Linked DNA regions of Homo sapiens: region 1 is linked to region 2. The links are contacts of gene promoters, found by promoter capture Hi-C in human tissues and cell types (Jung and others, 2019). All regions are on one chromosome and are shown on one strand. The core of a region is centred on a gene start or on the middle of the fragment in contact, and the rest is flanking DNA. Distances in the headings are between cores, read along the strand shown.

Region 1 (3,673 bases), core at 1,148-3,647, 170 kb after region 2:
GGACAGAAAGGTGAACAGACAAAACTATAGATGCCCACTATAGACCTACCCCAAAATACTGATGTAGTTTAATCTGGTTTTAGTTCTTATAATTAAGATGTTGAGTATAGTAACTGTAGTATAATTTAATCAAGTAAGTTAGATTACAGTGGGTTTTATACAGCTATACTTCTGCTGTAACTGAAAATCTACTTTTTAAAATTATTATTATTTTTAGAAATAGGGTCTCTTTCTCTGTTGCCCAGGATGGAGTGCAGTGGCATGATTATAGTTCACTGTAACGTCAAACTACTGCTCAAGCGATTCTCTCACCTCAGCCTCCCAAGTAGCTAGGACTGCAGGATCATGCCACAACACCCAAGTGTGTTTTGTGTTTTTTTGTTTGTTTTGTTTTGTTTTTAGTTTTTAGTTTTGAAGAGACAGGGCTTCACTATGGTGCCCAGGTTGGTCTTGATCTCCTGGCCTAAAGCAATCCTTATGCCTTGGCCTCCCAAAGCACTGGGATTACAGGCATGAACCATGCTCAACCTTCTACTTTTATTTGAAGGTAAAACTGGCTTACAATTGCTTTTAAACTAAAAACTAACAGTGAAATCTGGAAACCATGATCCCAACTTTGCACGAAGAGTAAATGAAAAAAGCATAGATCTGAGACAAAAATGCTACTGATCCCACCTGCAGGTCAGCTCTATAGTCAGAGTGTTCTTAATCTCACCTCTTCTTCTGATCATCCTTCCTCTTCTACTTTAATCACTTCTGTATTTCAGTAGGTTGAAATGACCTCTTATTGCACATTGAAAATCACATTTTCAAGATGCTCCTCAATTCATATATGGATAAAAAAGGTATAGAAAAGGGAAATTCACTTGTCCTGCTCTTGTAGAAAAAAAAATAAGCATTCTCATTGAAATAATTTAAGAATAAAATATGAGAACACAAGAATTTCCTTGGTAGAGTCTTTATTTCATAAATTAGTTCCTAAAACTGTAGAAGTGTCTGGGTGAGCTTCTCTAGGGTACTGGGGATGATTTTCATTTGGTGGGAAGAGTTTCAAAAAGCAAATTTCTACATCTTTTAAAATCCTAGCCTGTTTTCAGTACGCTACCATTTAAAAATATTACGCCTACCTGAAAATCAAAAGGTATCTATATATGTAAAAATAGGATGATCTTAGAATTTGTTGCCTAAGCTTGAAGACTTTTGAGATTGAAAGGGGGGCATTATTAAAAATATGGCTGGACAGCAGAGTAAATTGAAACAGTTCTTCCCAAATCAAATCTTAAAATCACTCTACTTAGAAACAACAATTGATCAATTTGGCTTCCCATTATGCTCCATTTCCTACTCATATTGTAAAAGAAAAAAAATCCTTTGCTTTTTTGAAAAATGGGGAACGCTACAATTGACTTATTTTCCATGAAACATTCATGTGTAACTGGCAAATTTTAAAAAAGAAAGCTGATTATGTATACTGTCTTAAATCACAGAGATGCCATTTAGAATCTATAGTTTCCTAGCCCAGCTAGAGTCAGTAAGTCAGGCCGTAACACACTGTTACCATTTGGACTTGGCCAAAAGAAAACGAGGCCTTGAAAATCCTCAACTGTGGTGGACCACAGCCTCACCCCTCTCCCACGGCTCTGGAGATTTCCAATGGGCTGAGGCCTCTCTGTCCAACAGCAGAGATGAAGCCATAAATCAGACTTTCCTTCGAATCATGGGGAGAGGACTGGGGCAGTTACTGGCTATGTTTGTTCTCCACAAAGGCCATTCTATCCCGACTTGTTCAGAGCAGTTACTTTCAGATTTAAACTGAAAGGAATGCATCGATTGAGTACTGCACACACTTAAAGTGTAAAAAGAAAAAAGCAGAAATTATTTTGAAATAATTCTGTTTGCCAGAATTACTTAGGCTTTGAGCTTTTCTTTCAACCCATTTCCAATTTCTAGCATTATGTTGTCATTATTCAGTTATGATATAAAACAATATAGATATTGATACAAGGCATTACTGCAATGCACATTCTGACTGCTGTGTTCTGCCCATTAATTCCTGTACTTCTCTTACTCTCCAAAAACTATGAAATCTCTTAGTATTGGTCATCATTTAAATCCCTCATCGATATTGGAAAATCTCTCCTCTTTCTAAGTGTGCTTTCGTTCTGTGTTTCTCTCATAAGGTTTTCCCACTGCCTATTCATGGAAATATACATTTCATTTACACAATTATAAAGCACATTTTTTTAACTCCATGGCCTGCTTCCCATAATTCTAAGGCACTCAGATATGTCAGATAGACATCTCATTCTCTTCCTAAATGGAAGGTAAGGAAAAGCAGGTGACATTCCAAGAGCCACATTAAAAAAAAAAGTCTCTGGTAACTGTGTTGAGATATTAAGGCCAATGGTCCAATTATACACTATTAAATTCCATGAGTGAGTAGGGATTCGTTCCTTTATTTACAAGGACCACCACAGTGCTGGATGAAGCCACTTAAAAGTGAATTCTGTCAACTTGTGAAGAGCAATTCTCTAGTACCATAAGTCTTTCAAAGTATGATTTATTGCCTCCAATAACACTTAAATATAGGCTGAAATCATTCAATCATTTTTTCACGGATTCAAATAAATTTGTCAGAAAGTTATAAATCATAGCCCAAGGATAGAGAGGGAAGCCTATAATATTCTGCACAGTATCCATTTGGGGTATGAATCAATCAATTGTGCTCATGATAAATTGAACAACTTACGTGCCTCACACTATTAAAAATAATTTTAGTGAATGAGTCACATAATTTTCTTAGTGGTATGCAATAGTCTTTTTTAAGCTTGTGAAATACGTTAAATGTTAAAAGAAGGAAAGGAACACATACCCACATGTATATATAGATATATATGTATACATCTTTATGTGTGGATACATGCATAAACTACACATACACGTGTTCACAGATATAAATCATGATAGAGAGATAGAGGGGGAGAATAGATATACGTGTATAGAATGAATTAATCACAGACAACAAACAGAGATGTTTAGAGTTACAATAGTTATTTACCAATGTGGTGTAGTGTTTGGTGTATGCCAACTGAGTAAATGATCCTTTCTCTCCCACGAGCACAGATCTCCACAGTGCTAAGTTTACGAATTCAGTTTTCTACAGTTGTAAAGACTAAATAGGATATTTCCAGTTCATCATTATGAGCTCCTAATTTTATGAAATGTAAAAGACTCATAGATACCCAAGGTATGCAATGGAAGTCATCTCTTCAAAAATAACAGGCATTAGGATTTAACTTTAGTTTTAAGGCCTTAGGGCTTTTAAGTGTTTAGAAAACTATTCAAATGATAATAAAACTGAGAGCACAGCTGCTTTTGACAGTTTATGTTTCTTCTAAGCATCACGACTAACTGTGACTAATCCCTCCAAATTAACTTAATTTTGTAGAATGAAGCATATCAAAATATTGAACAAAATCCTTCTTGCGAAGATGAGCCAGATTTGCACATTCACCCTTCTTGACTGTTGCAAAGTCACCTGGGGACACTTAACATTCCATAGTTCAACAACCCTGGCCATTTTTTACTTCTAGGGAGTAGTAAACTTTTACTTTCTTATTGGAATATTTTATACCTGAATATAGTTTATGTCCCAGTTTTTACTTTCTTATCT
Region 2 (3,928 bases), core at 442-2,941:
GGTAGCGGCCCCGGGCACGTGCGCCTCCGACCTTAGGCGGCGAGAGGGAAGCGCCGCCCCGCGCGCGCGAGAGGCTGGCAGCGGCGCCAGAGGCGTAGAAGGGAGGGGAAGGACCTGGGACATTCAGGGACCCTGCGAGGCAAGAAGCTGAGCTTCAGGCAGTGCCGGTCCGACTGCATTTCCCTGGGGTGTTAGCTGGAAGGAAGACACAAATTTGAATGGGGTAGCAACTTAAAAACATTTTTCTTTTCAGTTTATTTTAAATGGGCAAATGCATCAGAATCCCATCTAGAAGTGAGTTCTTCCGAGATTGTCACAATCCCTTTCTAGCCTGGAACCCACACTTGAAATTCCTGGTAAAAGAGGGAGCCAAGGTGTCTCCAGGTAGCAATGCCATCCTCCTGTATCTTTTGGGGAACCCTGCCAACTCGCTCTCGAACAAGCGCTGGGAAACCGCGCCCTGGGGGAGAGGGGAAAGAAGACGGTGTCCCTTCCATATGCATAAAGCCCGCTGAGTGTTGGAATTTAAAACCTACAGCAGCAAGCTATATTTACGACTTGTTTCGTTTTGCTGGGGGAGGGGAGAGGGATCAGAAACTCTAGGACCTTATTCCCAAACTGGGAGATGGGAGCTTGGCAGTGGATCCCACTGGCACAGAACTCTAGTCAACTGGGGCCGCAGCGGCTGCCACTTGCGGGTGGGGAAGGGAAGGAAAAGGAGGGGGAGAGAAGGAGGGGCGGCGGAGGGGCTGACGCGGGAGGGAAGGAAACAGGTGAGCTCCCACCGCCACCCATGGGAAACCCAGCGCAGCGGCCCCCGGCGCGCCACCGTCCCAACCTGGAGAGCCACTTACCGGCTTTACACGGGTCCTTGTAATCTATAGTCTCTGTTTTATCCTCTTCGTTCCCATCAAAAGTGTAATCATAATCGAGGCCAGCGCAGACCCATAGCTCCCCGTAGAAAACAATCCCCGAGGCCACCAGCCACACGAGCATCCTCGGGGAAAGCGTTCCCAACCCCATCCTCCTCCCCCGGAGGAAAAGGAGGGGACGGGACCCAGAGGTTAGGCAGCCGCGGTCCGCGCTGATGTGCGGGGCTAGGGGCACCGGTGCTCTTCTCCCCACCCGGAGGCTCCTCGGCGGGACCGGGGTGCTCAGGTGTCCGGAAACATGTGGATGCCGCCGGGACAGTAGAGAGGGCAAGCACTGCCTGTTACCCCCAGTCGCAGGGAGAAGTTGGCTAGGGGCCCACGGGTGGGCGGAGGGCAGGTAAGGAACTCTGCACTCGGAGGCGGGGAGGGCGCAGGCAAACTCGGCTCTGGCGGCGCTGGCGCTCGCAGCCTGCCAGGTCGTCCTTCTGGCTGCCGAACTTCCCGCGGCCGCGGCTCGGCGAGCGGCGCCCCGCGGGCTCAGCTGCCACCAGAGCTCGGACTCCCGCGCCGCGTCCCCGCTGCTGCCAGGACTCCGCGGCCGAGCGCGAGCCGCCGCCGCCTGAGCCCAAAGCCGCCGCCGCAGCTCCGAGAAGATGAATCCGGTCTGCACATCAGCACATCTGAATTGAAAGGGGAGACCGAGGAAGGGGGTGGGGGCCAGGCATTTCTACGCCGCGAGACCTTAAAAGCCTGCAGAAGCCAGCAAAGCAACTGACTGCAAGAGAGCAAAAGTGTGAGGATTTGGGGATGCACTGTTTGCCTTCCCCCCGCCAGCCTGTCTTTTTACCCTCTTCCTAACTTGAAAAAAAAAAATATTCGCACCATCTAACCCAATCACTTGCATCCTGCTTACTTATTCATACAATCAGGGTCAGGATCCGGACCACAGCCTCCTCTCTTGACTTCTTTTGATAGCCTTAGACAAACAAACAGACAGGAGCGCGCTGACAATTCCATTTATATTTTACCAAAGATAAAAATGAATATATTATGTATCTGTGTACGCAAACAGCAATTAATAGATGATGTACGTGTCAGTTGAGAGTGCCAGACCGGGGGTGGAGCGAAGGATCGTGATAACTTAGCTGCAAATCCATATTTCCCCTCCCCCCAAATAAACAGCGAGTGTGTATTTCTTTCCTTTGCTGCTGTTTAACCTTAGAGCAGCGCAGGAATGGAGGAAAAGTGTGCGAGTCTTCACGATTTTGGTAAGAAAATAAACAGACTACTGTTGGTCTCCTAACCAACAAAGTTTTGCTAAGAACTAAGATCCTCAGAACTGCAATTAAAAAAAAAATCCAAAATCGAGTTACAGATTGCAGCAGCAGGAAACGCTGAGACCTTGCCGATGGGCTGGCGCTATGGCTCACGTGGGCGCAGGAAGGGAAGCTGGATGGAATACTCGGGAAGCAAATTTTCTGTGACAGTTCTGGCGCCCATGAGCAGAGTTGCTCAGTATCCTTCGGCTTCAGTAATGTTTTACTTCTTCAGAGGAGAGGGTGTAAAACCTGGCAGGAGGGTCAGCGAGGTAAACCACATGTCAGCCGAGCAGACTCAAGACAAACACAGGTTGTGGGAAATTGGGGAGGAAAAAAATCAGAGGAAATCTCTGTAAAACCCCTGTTGTGAGCAATTCCGAGGTTTCCCCACATCTGCAAGTAGTTTCCAAAATAGGTGAGATGACTTCTCCCCCAACAAGCTTCCAAGGGACTGGTGATTGGGAGCTTTCCTTTTCCAACTAAATCTTTAAAACTGTCACTTTAGCAAGGACTTGTAAAAAAAAAAAAAGCCTTACATATTATTTGACTAGTGTTCCCCCTATCCAAGTTATCATCTAGAGGAATGTATGAAGGTAAACACACACACACACACACACACACACACACACACACACACACAACTTTGACAGATAAAGTCATCTTTGGTTTGGAGATTTTACTAGGTTTTATTCATGTTTGTTAGAGAAAAGTAAGAAGCCAATCTTGAAAAAGTACCAAGTATTTTCAACTTAAACTAAAAGTATAGGAAGGCTAGGTGGAACTGAACTGACCAAGTGTTCTTTGCAAAACTGGGTCTTTCTCAGAGGCCACTGCAATGATGGAGCTTCCCTTCCATAGATCTTAAGCTTTTAATGCCCAGGATACAGAGCAGAAGTAGATTTTTAAAAAGAACATGTTCAATAAGCAGGTAGAGGCGTTTGATTTTGAAATCTCTTGCTGAGTCATTCTCAAATTCTCTTACCCATCCAAAAAAAAAAAAGTTTGCATAATTAATAATAGTGTTGCCCTAGTGCAGAGCTCAACAAGAATATGTCCTGCTTAGCCCATCTGAAAGCCTAGAGAATGCATATGTCATCTAGAGGATTCCTGCTCTTGAGCTGCTGACAGTGTTCCCATTCCCTATCCCAAACCTTAAAAATGTCCCTTGTTAATCTAAATGCCTGCAAACATCTCCTTAGACTATTTTATCATGTGTAAATTTGCAAGAAGTTTTACCTGTGGTTTGCCTAAACATCACTTACTTTGCAGGAATAAATATGTTTTATTCATTTGTTCTGGGAAAAAAAGTACTGTATAGGGATAATAGCTTCATTATGTATAATGACACCTATTACTTTTAACATGTGTTTCATTATTTGGTTTTATAATTTTATGAATTTGTAGTCCAGAGAGTTAGAATGATTTTCATAGTAGAACTTCAAGTCAAAATACAGGAATGTTTCTTTACAGCTAATATACTTGCAGAGAATACCTACATCACAATACCCAGGCTTAATCCCTGATTTATTTTTAAATATTAAATCTAACTCTAGGTTGTAATAAGAAACTTCATTTTTTTAAACTAATTTTGTCTCTATAGTTGTTATGATTACAAACTAAAAATAGATTTTTCCTTGTCCATGAAAGAAACATAAATTTGCAAGAATATGTATGTGAGCAAGGAGTTGATTGCTGTGTCATAGTATAGCTGCAGACACGCAGTACGTGAATTCAATC

What was found. Contacts are between HindIII fragments. The study calls those that stand out against the background at their distance.
Region 1: a contact is called between a fragment that was not itself captured here and the fragment with the promoter of TLL1 in region 2, in 1 of the 25 tissues and cell types used here (mesenchymal stem cells).

Annotation. Positions count from the first base shown.
Region 1 is chr4:165,697,336-165,701,008 of GRCh38, reverse strand. All of the region lies in intron 3 of LINC01179 (long intergenic non-protein coding RNA 1179), which reads right to left. Among named protein-coding and RNA genes, the nearest start is that of LINC01179, 15 kb to the right of the region's middle. The HindIII fragment of the contact is 5,002 bases long and covers 1-3,673 here.
Region 2 is chr4:165,871,000-165,874,927 of GRCh38, reverse strand. It overlaps TLL1 (tolloid like 1), which reads right to left and starts at 1,691. Exons shown (of 21, transcript NM_012464.5): 1 at 855-1,691. The coding sequence starts at 1,023. The HindIII fragment of the contact is 12,105 bases long and covers 1-2,844 here.